Regions from separate parts of the Homo sapiens genome. Here regions 2 and 3 are each linked to region 1. Evidence: promoter capture Hi-C in human tissues and cell types (Jung and others, 2019). All regions are on one chromosome and are shown on one strand. The core of a region is centred on a gene start or on the middle of the fragment in contact, and the rest is flanking DNA. Distances in the headings are between cores, read along the strand shown. Region 1 holds the start of TMED9 (transmembrane p24 trafficking protein 9). Region 2 has its middle 18 kb from the start of PROP1. Region 3 overlaps NSD1 (nuclear receptor binding SET domain protein 1).

The links. The method cuts DNA at HindIII sites, captures the fragments that hold promoters and counts their contacts. A contact is called where the count stands out against the background at its distance.
Region 2: a contact is called between a fragment that was not itself captured here and the fragment with the promoter of TMED9 in region 1, in 3 of the 25 tissues and cell types used here (dorsolateral prefrontal cortex, hippocampus and mesenchymal stem cells).
Region 3: a fragment that was not itself captured here is called in contact with the fragment with the promoter of TMED9 in region 1 in 1 of the 25 tissues and cell types used here (spleen).

The regions. Positions count from the first base shown.
Region 1 is chr5:177,588,794-177,593,452 of GRCh38, reverse strand. TMED9 (transmembrane p24 trafficking protein 9) reads right to left here and starts at 1,250. Exons shown (of 5, transcript NM_017510.6): 1 at 1,055-1,250; 2 at 778-878. The coding sequence starts at 1,238. RefSeq lists an enhancer at 1-45. The HindIII fragment of the contact is 6,732 bases long and covers 1-4,659 here.
Region 2 is chr5:178,012,268-178,016,926 of GRCh38, reverse strand. It overlaps the pseudogene FAM153CP. Among named protein-coding and RNA genes, the nearest start is that of PROP1, 18 kb to the right of the region's middle. The HindIII fragment of the contact is 6,355 bases long and covers 1-4,659 here.
Region 3 is chr5:177,235,045-177,239,703 of GRCh38, reverse strand. It overlaps NSD1 (nuclear receptor binding SET domain protein 1), which reads right to left. Exons shown (of 23, transcript NM_022455.5): 6 at 3,759-3,883; 7 at 1,197-1,467. Among named protein-coding and RNA genes, the nearest start is that of RAB24, 66 kb to the left of the region's middle. The HindIII fragment of the contact is 9,664 bases long and covers 1-4,659 here.

The sequences.
Region 1 (4,659 bases), core at 1-2,500:
GAGAGTCTGACATTAGGGTGGCAAGTGACTGACTGCTCTTGGGAAGGGCTTTCCTTTATAGCTTATGCCCTTTCAACTTTTTTGGTGTGAGTTGTTTTTTGGGGGGTTCTTTTTTGTTTTTGTTTTTGAGACAGAGTCTCACTCTGTCGTCCTGGCTGGAGTGCAGTGATGCTATCTCAGCTCACTGCAGCCTCAGCTTCCCAGGTTCAAGCAATTATCGTGCCTTAGCCTCCCAAGTATCTGGTATTAGAGGTGTGCGCCACCACACCCGGCTCATTTTTTTTTTTTTTTTTTTTTGTATTTTTACTAGAGACGGGGTTTGCCAGACGGAGGTTGCCCAGGCCGGTCCTGAACTCCCGGCCTCAAGTGATCCACCCGCCTCGGCATCCCAAAGTGCTGGGATTACAGGCAAGAGCCACCACACCCCGCCATGAGTTTTTTAACGAAAAGTGACAGAAGGTGAGAGCTGAAGGGTTTTGCCGTTCGTTTTAATATCCTTACTTGGGAAGATTAAAAGCTGCTCATTTTGTGGGGAAAGTATCATGTTCTGTGAAATCTTAAAGTCTAGATGACTTTAAGAGTTGACAAAACTCTTTGATTTTTATCACCACAATTAATCCGCCCATTTCACAGACCGGGCGGGGTCTGCAAGTCAGCAGGATATTCCCACAACATCAACTGTCTCTCCCACTTTAGCAGATGCAGGAACTAGAAGAGGAAGTACCGGAGCCCGCCTAGCTGAGAGGCTGGCGGAGAGGAGGGGGGCGGTTGGCTCACCTTGTCCTCTGGGTCCTTCACCTCCACAAACATGCCAAGCCCCGGGGTGGCCGGCTGGTACTCCTCCCGCTGCTTGTCATACAGCTGCGTCCGGTAGTTTCCTTGAGGGAAGCAGGGCGAGCCCAGGTCAGAGGAGCGCGAGGTGGCATGGGTTCCGCGACCGCCTGGGCACGGCGAGGCCGTCTCCTCCCGGCTCTAGAGAGCTGACTGTCTCGCATCCCCCGCCCCAAGACCACGGTCACGTTCCAAACTCGCCCCTTCCTCCCCGCCCCCGCACCTATGACCATGGTCTCGTCCGGGATCTCCTCAATAAAGCACTTCTTCTCCGTCTCTCCGATGTGAAAGTAGAGCGCGCTTCCGCGCGTCGCCAGCCACAGCACCAGCAGGAGGGTCCGCATCACTCTACCCAGCCCGGTTCCGGGCCGGGGCCGGACGAGCAGCACGCCCAGCTCCACAGCCATCTTGCTCCACCTGCCTGCGCAGCCGCAGCCGGCCGCGCCACGTCGCCCTGCCGCCGCCGCGGTGCCTGCCGGGACCGCGAGTTCCGCCGGGTGGACCACAAATCCCGAGATGTCCCGCGGCCCTGGCGCGGCAGTACCTGATTGGGGCGCGGCTTTTACCTGAGAGAGAGCGGGTGCCCTAGAATAAAAACTTATTTCCGTTGACTCTCTTCATGGCCTGGCAACTGACGATGGTTACCAGCTTTTCATAGATGAAACTGAGGTCGTTTGTTTGAGGTTGCGGAGCGAATTGCGAACAGAGACAGGATTCGAACCTAGGATCCCTGACTTTCCTTGGCACAGCATCTACCAGTCTTGATTTGCTTCTACCTTTAAAAATGAATTTAAAGAGAACGACCAAATAATGCACAAATGTATTATCAAAAAAGATTAAAAGAAATAAAAGGCAAGGTCTCCCATTACCACTTCTTTGTCCTCATACCCTGTCCACTCCTAAATCGGGTGTTACCCTCTCAAGCATTTCTCCGATCACACACACACACAAACACACACACAGCCTCTGCTGCCAGATCCCAACTGCAATGGCTCGTTACTAGCAATTCTACAGAAATAGAAAGGATCATAAGAGAGTACTATGAGCAAATATAAGCCAACAAATTGGATAACGTAGATGAAATGGACAAATTCATAGAAATGCAAAACTGACTCAGAATAGATAATATAATCTGAATAAACCTATAACTAGTGAGGAGATTGAATCAGTAATTTAAAAAAAATCATCCTTACTTAATATAGTTAAGATGTCAATACTATCCAAAGCAATCTACAGATTTAATGCAATTCCTGTCAAAATCCCAATGACATTTTTTGTAGAAACAGAGAAACTCATTCTACAATTCATATACTCTCAAGGGATTTCGATTAGCCAAAACAATCCTGAAAAATAAGAATAAAGCTGAAGAACTCACACTTCCTGATTTCAAAACTTACTTCCAAGCTTCAGTCATCAAGACAGTGTGGTACTGGCATATAGACAGACATATAGACCAATGGAATACAATAGAGAGCCCCAAGATATGCCCTCCCATATATGGTCAAATAATTTTTAACAAGGAGACCAAGCCCATTCAATGCGGGGAGGAGGGACAGTCTTTCTAACAAATGGTGCTGGGAAAACTGGATATCCACATGCAAAAAAGTGAAGGTGGTTCCTTCTCTAACACCATAGATAAAAATTCACCCAAAAAGACCCACAACTTTTAAAATCCCAAAGCATAAAACTCATAGAAAACATATGGCAAAGGGTTTACCACATCGGATTTGGCAACAGACTTCCTGGATATGACACTAAAGGCACAGGCAACAAAAGAAAAAATAGACAAATTGGACTTTATGAAAATTAAAACATTTTGTGCATCAAAAGACTCTGTAGCAGAGTAAAGAGGCAACCCACAGAATGGAAGAAAATATTTGCAAATCATATATCTGACAAAGGATTAATATCCAGAATATGCAGAGACTCCTAAAACTCAGCAACAAAATAAGAACAATCTCATTCAAAAACCACAACAAAGGGCTTGAATAGACATTTCTCCAGTGATCAACAAGTGGCCAGTGAGCACATGAAAAGATACTCAACATCACTAATCATTAGAGAAACACAAATCACAATGAGATAAAGAACAATGAGATACTACGTCATATACCCATTAAGATGGCCACTAGAAAAAAAAAAAGGAAAAGAAAGAAACTACAAGCATTGGCAAGGATGTGGGGAAATTGAACCCTTGTGCACTGTTGGTGGGAATGTAAAATGGTACAGACACTGTGGAAAACCGTATAATGATTCCTCAAAAAAGTGAAAATAGGCTGGGCATGGTGGCTTACGCCTATAATTCCAGCGCTTTGGGAGGCAGAAGCAGGAGGATTGCTTGAGCCCAGGAGTTCGAGACCAGTCGGGGCAACATGACGAAACCCCATCTCTACAAAAAATACAAAAATTAACTGGATCTGGTGGCATGCGCCTGTAGTCCCAGCTACTCAGGAGGCTGAGGCAAGAGGATTGCTTGAGCCTGGGAGGTCAAGGCTACAGTGAGCTGTGATCATGCCACTGCACTCCAGCCTGGGTGACAAAGCAAGACACTGTCTCAAAATAAATAAATAAAAATAGAATTACCATATGATTCAGCAAGTCCATATCTAGAGATATCCTCAAAATAATTAAAAGTAGGGTCTCAAAGAGATATTTGTACACATATGTTCACAGCAGCATTATTCACAAGCAAAAAAAAAAATGGAAGCAACCCAGTTCTTCATCAGTAGATGAATAGATAAGCAAAATATGGTACATCCACACAATGGAAATCCTTTCAGCCTTAGAAAGGATGGGAATTCTGACACATGCTACAACATAGATGAATCTTGAAGAAACATTACGCTAAGTGGACTAAGCCAGACATAAAATGATAAATACTGGGTAATTCCATGTATATGAGGTACTAGAGTCGTCAAAATCACAGAGACAGAAAGCAGAATGGTGGTTGCCAGGGACTGGAGGACAGGGAGAGTGAAGTTATTGTTTAATAGGTATAGAGTTTCAGTTTTCCAAGATAAAAAGAGTTCTGTAGATGGATGGTGGTGAGAGTTCTATGGCAATATAATGTACTTAATCCCACTGAAGTGTACAGTTAAAAACAGTCAACTTTGGCCGGGCACGGTGGCTCACGCTTGTAATCCCAGCACTTTGGGAGACCGAGGCGGGAGGATCACAAGGTCAGGAGATCGAGACCTGCCTCACCAACATGGAGAAACCCTGTTTCTACTAAAAATACAAAATTAGCCTGTGTGGTGGCACATGCCTGTAATCCCAGCTCCTCGGGAGGCTGAGGCAGGAGAATTACTTGAACCTGGGAAGCAGAGGTTTGGTGAGCTGAGAAGGCACCTTTGCATTCTAGCCTGGGCAACAAGAGTGAAACTCCATCTCAAAAAAAAAAACAAAAGTGTGGTAGAATGCTCCAGTGTAATCATCTGGGCCTTGAAATTTCCTTTTGGGGAGTGTTTTAATTATGAATTAAATTTCCTTAATAGCTATAGGGCTATTCAAAGTATCTATTTCATACTAGTAAGTTGTGATAGTGTGTGCTTTTTGAGTAATTGATCTATTTTGCCTAAATTGTTACATTTATGTATGTAGAGGTTCAGTCAGGATGGTGGGGAAAATTATACAATAAAACACAAAACTTGGAAGGCCAAAAGGTTTTTGCTTAGCTTCAGATAGTTTGGCTGAAAGCGGCCTAATCCTCTTTGAGCCATAGCAAGGGTAAGTAACATAGGAATGTAGAGGAGTCTATCTAAATAGCTTGTTTACTCATGTGGTTCTAAAAGTAACCTTTAATCATTCGCGGGCAGGATGGCGCTCTGG
Region 2 (4,659 bases), core at 252-2,751, 420 kb before region 1:
CAGATTTCTATCAATCTATGCTGAGGAGCAAGATAAGGGATCTGGAAGCCAGACAGGCTGATGGTTTAACTGTGGGTCAGCTACTTTGTTAACTACGGGGTCATGAGCCAATTAATCAACCTCTAAACCACAGTTGCCTATGTAATAAACAGTAGGTTATAAGAACACAGATGTTGCAATGGCTTTATGGGATGATAAATGCATAGCACACAATAGGGGTTTAGCCCAGAATACAACACTCAACAGATATGAATCTCTTCCATCTATATTTCCTTAGTTAACATATTTTTTTAAATCTGTAAAATCCTACCTGACTGCATATTCATCAGAACTCCCAGAATCTATTAAAGAAAAAGGTATACTGCATTATAAATCAATAATAATTGTATAGAATATTAAAAGCATAAGAAGGCACAGTGATACATGCCTGTATTCCCAACTACTTGGGAGGCTGAGGCAGGAGGATCACTTGAGGAACCCAGAAGTTTGAGGCCAGCTTGGGAAACAGCAAGACTCTATCTTCACAAAAAAGTTATGCACACTTGTGTGCAGACTTCAGACCATGTTTTTTTCTTTTCTTTTCTTTTCTTTTTTTAAAGCATAGGACTGATGCTTTGTTATATAGCATTCCTTTGGGAGCATAACCGGGACCTTATTAGAATTAATATTAATTATACCTATTAGTAGATAATTAATGCAGTAAGAACTCTTACTTCCCTTACTTTGTATTTATTAAATGCAAAGAAGAATAAATTTATAAAATTTGATATCTACAAGTGAACCGCAGTATACAAGTTATCCTAGCCAAACCCTGTGAGATTGACTAAAAATGGTATTGTTAGCAGAACAGGTGTGATGAATGAACAGTGTCAAAGAGCATGATTTCAGGACCAAAACATGACGGGCAGTTCAAACAGAGTATACAGTAGTACCCCTTGTCCACTGTATGTGTGGAAAAGACACATTTGACCTGTTTTTCTCTGCTGTCACGTCACAGCAACAATAACAAAGAAGTCTCCTGTGACAAAACGTGTGGAGGGTTTTTCTCCACCAACAAGTAAGCAATCATTTCTGCCGATGACACAAACTGGGCATCCTCTAAGTCAATTCTCACACTCTATCTGCAGATAGCATCAGATTGCACAGGTAAAGGGCTCAGTCCCATGAAACTGCCTCCCTACATCAGTTGTAGGTCTGAAACTCCAGAACTTCTGGCCAACTGTCTTCAAATTGAGGTTCCCAGGACTCCCTCTTTGGGTTAAATTGAATTGCTAGAGTGGCTCAAAGTACTCAGGGAAACACATTTACCAGTTTTCTATGAATGACATTACAAAAGATACAGATGAAGAGATGCATAGTGCAAAGTATGGGGGAGGTGGCACGGAGATTCCATGCCCTCCCAGGACACACCATCCTGTAGGAGCCTCCATGCATTCAGCCATCTGGAAGCTCTCCAAGCCCAGTCACTTTGGGTCTTGATGAAAGCTTCATTATATTGGTATCACTGATTAATCACTGGCCTTTGGTGACTGACAACCTTCAGCTCTTCTCTCCTCTCCAGAGTCTCCTGAATGAGACAGAAGATCTCAACACTCTAATCAATCATGTCTTCAGGATGGTGACCAGTTCCCATCCTGAAGCTACCTAGGGGCTTCCAGCCATGGATCATTAGCATACAAAAAAACATCACTTTGGAAATCCTAAGGATTTTAAGAATTGTACCCAACAAATGAGTTAAGATCCAGAGATTTTACATCTGCAGTTTTGATTTCTGTGGTTACAGTTACTAATAGTCAACTGTATTCCAAAAATATACACGGAAAACTCCAGAAATAAAGAGGTCATAAGTTTTAGTGTGCCATTCCGAGAAGCACAGTGAAACCGTCAGCACCCTCTATCCAGCCCAGGATGTGAATCGTCCTGCAGTGCACCCACACTGCACATGCTGTCCACCCGTTAGTCATCAACACGGTCTCCTCCTGTAGCCCGCCGCCAACATCAAGGCCTGACGATCTAGGATCACGTCATTCACCTCAGTTCATCTCATTACACGGGCATTGTATCACTTCACATCATCACAAGAAAAAGGGTGAGAACCAGCCGGGTGCAGTGGCTCACACCTGTAATCCCAGCACTTTGGGAGGCCGAGGCGGGCGGATCACGAGGTCAGGAGATCAAGACCATCCTGGCTAACACGGTGAAACCCCATCTCTACTAAAGAAATAAAAAAAAAAAAAATTAGCCGGGCTTTGTGGTGGGCGCCTGTAGTCCCAGCTACTCCGGAGGCTGAGGCAGCAGAATGGTGTGAACCCAGGAGGCAGAGCTTGCAGCGAGCCGAGATCACAGCATTGAACTCCAGCCTGGGCGACAGAGCGAGACTCCGTCCCAAAAAAAAAAAAAATGGGTGAGAACCGTACAATATATTTCAAGAGACCACATTCAAGTAACTTTTATTACAGTATAATTTGTTATTTTATTGTTCGTTTCTTACTGTGCCTAATTTATACATTAAATATTATCATGGTTATGTATGTGTAGGAAAAACCAGTGGGTGATTCAGTACTATTTGTGGTCTCAGGCATTCACTGGGGGTGTCTTAGAATGTTATCTCCCATAGTTAACGGGGAACTACTGCACTTATTTTGTTGTAACACAACACAGCCTCTCTAGCTCTTCAGTTAAAACTTTTCAGTATAGAATCAAACACCCTATCACCAGAAGCCAGCAGAATGTAGGAATCAGACCAGCAACAGGGATCCTTGCAAAAACTTTCCAGCTGCCAGTGGAGAAGAGCTCAAGAGAGCTCAATGTGTTACTCTGGATACTACTCTTCTGGGGAAGGTGCTGGGTGGTTTCCTTAGTTGTAGCTATATACTCTGCCCTACGTATAAGAAGGCCCAAATTCACCTGCCATTTTACCTCCCACGGAAAGAACCACTGGAAAGATCACTCCTTTAAGAGCTTATACACTCGGAACCACGCCTCACATTCAGAGAGAAGCTTAAGAAACACCGGCGAGGTGTGCCAGGCTGCCAGGCAGTACTATATGATGTGAAAAATATACAGAAAGAAAACTATCAATGCCCTCTTGCTGCCAGAATGTTCCAATGCTTGCCCCTTTCCCTAGTAGGAGAAAAAAATTCTTTTTCACCTCACATAAAGCAAAACTGCCGTCCCTCACGACACAGAATCTAGTTGCAGGTGAGTCATGTCATCATAACACAGACTGTTTTCAAAGTCATCCCTCAAAGGAAGAGGATCAGTGAGGAACATATGTATTTATCTATAACATTCACTGCCTGGTCTTATTTCCAACCCAAGGTAAGTATGAAAGACTTTGTGATTCCAGTTTTTTAAAGTACAACCTCTTGAGCTTCTCCCCTTCCATTGCTAGGGAGTCTATCTGGACCCACCTCACTGGAGCAAGATGCTCCAGTTTGTGCTGTGTGGTATTGCATGGTGTCATTTTCCTCAACCCTTTCCATTATGTGGCAAAGGCCTATACAAATCATGTTTCCTAAGTATGTAAAGCATATGTCATCAGACCTTACAAAGACAAAGAAGCTAAAGAAAAACAAAAGGACAAAGAACATCTTAAATGACTACATTCAATTACCATGGAACTTTACTTTTTTAACTATTCAAAAAGATATCCATTGTATTATTTCAACTATATGACTCTCCTGAAAAAAGTAAAACTATGAAGACAGATAAAAGATCAGTGGTTTCCAGCAGCTGCTAGGGAGAAAGGGAGAGATGAACAGGCAGAGAATAGAGCATTTTTAGGGCAGTGAAACTGTTCTATCTATAATAAATAGACACATGTCATTATACATTTGTCCAAATTCACAGAATGTACAGTATTAAGAATGGAGCCTGATGTCAACTATGAACTTTGAGTGATTATAATGTGTCAATGTAGGATCATCAGTTGTAACAAATGTACCACTCTGGTGGAAAATACTAATCATGGGGGAGGCCGTGCATGTGTGGGAGGCATGGAACAGAGGAGAAATCTCTGTACCTTCCTCCGATTTTGCTGTGAACCTAAAACTGCTATAAGAAATAGAGTTATTGATTTAAAAAACATATTCACTGTCTATGCATCCCAGGATTTCCAGAACAAAAATAAAAAATAAAAGATATTCACTGAATCTGTTATTATGATATATTTAAGCAGGACACAGTGGTAACCCTAAAAATTGGAGATCATTAAAGACCAAAGTAACAGCATGTGGGCATGATTTCTCAAATCGCAGTATAGAAAATGCATAAAACAAATAAATTCAATTGCAAGCTTAGGCAAGAAAATATTGATAAAATGATTAAATATCTTATTTCCTAACTCTAAACAGGGATTTAGCACGATATGAAAACTAGATTCACATAATCAAAATAAAAGACCATTTTTATTCCAATTTTAACTCAGAAATTATTATGCTTATTCAATTTAACACTTTCACTGAAAGGTTAAAGAGATAAGAAGGACAGATTATAATTGCTTAATATTGCTATGGTAACTTCCATTCAAATACCTGTGAGTCACCAGAAGTCAAAAAGGTAGCCAGCATTGCAACACAGGATGGATCATGCAACAGAAACTAGCACCAGGTTACCTTATCTTATAATATTATTTGCTGTTAAAATGAAATTTTAAAA
Region 3 (4,659 bases), core at 1-2,500, 350 kb after region 1:
ATTTTTAAAAAATCTGTATACCACACAAAATGAATCTCAATGTTTTTGATGTTTTCCCCGTCATCTTATGGGAAGAGGCAGGATGGTAATTTGCTTATTATAAAATATTAGTAAACAAAACAAGTAAACAGTTTTCAATGCAAGCACCAACTAATGTGAGGGATGTGTGTGTGGTGACTTTAACTCACAAAATCACTAAGGGAGAAGTCAGAAGGACGGAACTGCCTTTATAACAACTGATTGTTGGTGAGGATAAAATAAGGAGAAGTGGAGTGAAATAGAACTTGGATCATGGTCATAAATGGACAAAGATTATAGTTTCTGCTCTGCCCCTAAGTAAATAAAATTCAATAGGTAAAAGATAATTCATAGGATCACTCAAGAATAATATAAAAGAGCTGACTTAATAGAGTTTTGGCACATAGTAGGTACTGAAATAATAACTATCTTTACTGTTCTTTCAAAAATCTTTTTTATTATACCCAACTAGTTTAAGCACAATTGGAATCGTTTCTTTAAGGAATAACATCAAAAGCTACTGTTGATAATGTAAAAAAGTTATATCCAAAATTTAAAGGGGTACAGAAAAGAGGATTCTTGCCATTCCTTGACTGACTATAATATTCAATAGTTACAAGGTGAATTAGAGACAATATGTTTAGATCCAACTCTCCCCAGGTGATATATAAAGAATGATCAAGTGAGAAGTAACTGGTAATTAACTTCTAATGAACTGGTAATTACTATGTTGTCAGGTATATAACATTACACATTAATACATTATGATCTCCATTTATAGATGAGGAAACAAGTTCAGAGATTAAACAACTTCCCAAGTAACACAAGGATTGGTGGAGCCAGCACTTGAAGCATAGTGCTTATTCCACTAATGTGCAGTACTCCTCTTGAAGCCCTGTTATCCTGGTTGTTAATTTACACAGTGGCTGATCAACAATCATGAAGAGCAACACTGGAGCAAGGAGCATAGTTATTAAAAATACATCTTCTTGATAGTGTGCCACAGTTCATGGTTAGTAACTATATCTAATTAACCATCATTTTAAGTATTTCCCAGGACAAAAGGGGGTAGTTTATTGTATATAGATACAATGTTGGCTTTACATCAAAACATACTAAAATCTCCTGCTTCCTCTAATCATATCTGCTCAAATACTGAGACCCCAACCCCACCTTACCTGGCGTTTTAACTAGCAATTCCTCAGACTCAAGGGCAGGCCGTGGAGAGACTTCCGGAGCCACAGGCACAGACAAGGTCAGCTGCGGCAACTCAGCATGTCCACCTCCAAGTTCTGACTGAGCCAAGGGGCCCTCCAAAAACGGAGCCTCCCTTTCAAGAACTGGAGGCTCTTCTTTGGTTGAAATCAAAGAATTCTCGTCCACCTGCTTGTTCTGAGCACTAGATCGACCTCGGGCTAGAAGGCTTTCCTCTTCACAGCGGGAACTTACCTAAGAACAAAAAATAAAAATAGAGTCCACAGGCCAAAATTGTTGTAATTTAAGTGTCAAAAAGAATAACACACTTTAAAAGGAATGAAATTCTGACAAAGGCTACAAAAAGTGGATGAACCTTGAAGACATTATGTATGCTAAGGGAAATTACTTAAGACACAAAGAACAAATATCGTATGATTTCAAGTATATGAGGTATCTAGAATAAGAAAATTCTTGAGACAGAAAATAGAATGGCAATTGCCAGGGGCTGAGCAGAAAAGGGAGTTATTGGTTAATGGGTATTGATTTTTAATTTGGAAAGATGAAAAAAATTATCGAGATGGATGGTGGAGATGGTTGCACAACAATCTAACTGTGCTTCATGCTACTGAACTGTACACTTAAAAATGGATAAAATAGGCTGGGCGTGGTGGCTCACGCCTGTAATTCCAGAACTTTGGGAGGCCAAGGCAGGCAGATCACGAGGTCAGGAGATCAAGACCATCCTGGCTACCATGGTGAAACCCTGTCTCTACCTAAAAATGCAAAAAATTAGCCAGGTGTGGTGGCGGGCACCTGTAGTCCCAGCTACTCGGGAGGCTGAGGCAGGAGAATGGTGTGAACAGGAGAGGCAGAGCTTGCAGTGAGCTGAGATCACACCACTGCACTCCAGCCTGGGCAACAGAGTGAGACTCCATCTCAAAAAAAAAAAAAAAAAAAGATAAAATAATAAAATTTACATTATATATATATATTTTTTTAACCAAAATTAAATGAAGTTGACTGAGATACACTGAAGCTATAATATTGATAAGTCCACAACAATAATTCAAAAGCAGGGGAAAGAGACTGCTCTAATGTCTCCAATTAAAACAACTACTAATGAACTCCTTAATGTTACAATTGGTAATTAATGGGAAAGAAAGAAGCACTTATTCTGCCTTTCAAGTATTTCAGGACAATAACAGAGTCCAATTAATGAAAGAGACTATCAGTTAATAAAAATAGAGAAAATAATAAAATCTGAAAGTCTTCATTTTGTAACCTCTAATAAAATTATTGATATAGGTAAAGATCTTCAACTGGGGTTTTCAAAAAACCATCAGGGAAGCTGGGCATGGTGGCCCACACCTGTAATCCCAACACTCTGGGAGGCTGAGGCAGAAAGATCACTGGAGCCCAGGAATTCGAGACCAGCCAGGGCAACATAGTGGGACACCGCCTCTACAAAAAAAATGTTGTCAAAAATTAGCCAGGTGTGGTAGTGTGCACCTTTGGTCCCAACTACTCAGGAGGCTGAGACGGAAACATTGCTTAAACCCAGGAGGTCAAGGCTGCAGTGAACCGTGTTCGTGCATCTCTGCACTCCAGCTTGGGCAAGACACTGTCTCAATTTTAAAAAAGAAAGAACAAACTGTCAGGGAATGGCTGATGGGAATAAAACATTTTTTAACCCTCTAATGTACAATATATTCCACATTATCATCTCTGATATAGTCTAGCTAAAAATGTTCAACTTTCAATCTATCAAACTGATAGGTTCTATCTTCCATTTGACAGAGAACAGGAGATAGAGAAAACAATCTAAGTGACACCTATGAGGAAGCAATTACACAAATACAGAAAGTAGATGACTTTATATGTCACTCTCTTATAGACATGATCATGATCATGAAAAAAGGGATTGTTCTGAATTCAAAGTGATTTGAGAACCATAACAACCAGTTACAATGAGCAGTCCTAGATTGAGTCCTGGTATGAATAATCCAAAGGTAAAGGTTAGGGGATAATTGATGAAATTTGAAAGACAGTTGATGTCAGATAAACAGATCTTATATAAGATGTAAATATGTTAAATTGATTATAAAGGAAAATGTTCCATTTTTTAACTACATATTAAACTATGTAGGGGTAGAATGTCAAGATGTCTCTATTTCATTTTAAAAAACTGAGTTGAAAAATAAGACAAATAAGATATATTTACTTTTGAAATTAGGGTCAGACTATATATATTTCACTTTATAGCCTATATTTTTACTTAAGATTAAATCATAACAATATTCCTAAGTCATTACTCTTTGAAGGCAAAGAGGGAAAAATATATACATAAATAAATACAATATGTAGATTCATTTATATATTTCCTGAATAACCACTAAATCCTAAGTACTGTGCTAGAAGCTGAGAATAAAAAACAAGATCTCAGTTAAGGAAATTATTGTTTCATGAAGATAAAGTATGACATTGAAGATAAAATTGCAGTTTCCTAAGGACCAGTGAAAGTTTGCTGAAATTTTGCAACATACCTTGTGCACCTGCTCCTGTACCTTCTTTTGTTTTTTCTTAGGAGCAAATATCTGATCATATTCTTCTGTATATTCCAAAAGCCACTTGCTTGGCTTCCTAAGGCGTTTCTTCTCTGACCGCACAGCTAAAAGATGATAAACAAATTCAACATTAATCAAAAAGCTTCAGGAAAACCCACTGTTTTTATGAGACCATCTGATACTCCCAAAAGTAACCAGATGGGAAACCACATAGTAAAATAGACTATGGCTTAAGATGCAAGAGGCACAAAATGGCTTATGTTTTCTCATATGCAAAAGGAGCTGGGGGGAGACAAAAGGACTTGTGTTACCTTATATACACAAATAATAGAATATATGTGGCCCATCCAAAATTAAGGAAAAGGTTAAATTTAAAGCCAGGTCTTATAGTCACTGACACCTGTACATATAAAGCTAATATATACCTAACAAAAATGTAGCATCTAGATCAGGTAAATAGGTAAAATACATCTTGAGTTACAGGCTAAGTATGCCTTATCTGAAACGCTTGGGATCAGAAGTGATTTAGAATTTTTCATATTTTGTAATATTTGCATATATATATAATAAGTTATCTTGGGGATGGGACCCAAATTGAAATACCAAACTCATTTATGTATTACACACATCTTCTATACACATAGCCTGAAGGTAATTTTACAAAATATTTATTTTCTACATTATACAAAGTTTGTGTACAGTGAACCATAAGAAAGCAAAAGTGTCATTATCTCAGCCACCATGTGGAATATCTGTGGTTGTTTGGCATTACCATCATTCCTGTCTCTGAATTTATGTGCTACTGACAGGCAAACATTTTCTTATACTTATTCACACATAAGTACTTAACAGTAAAAATATGACATACCATTAATACAGT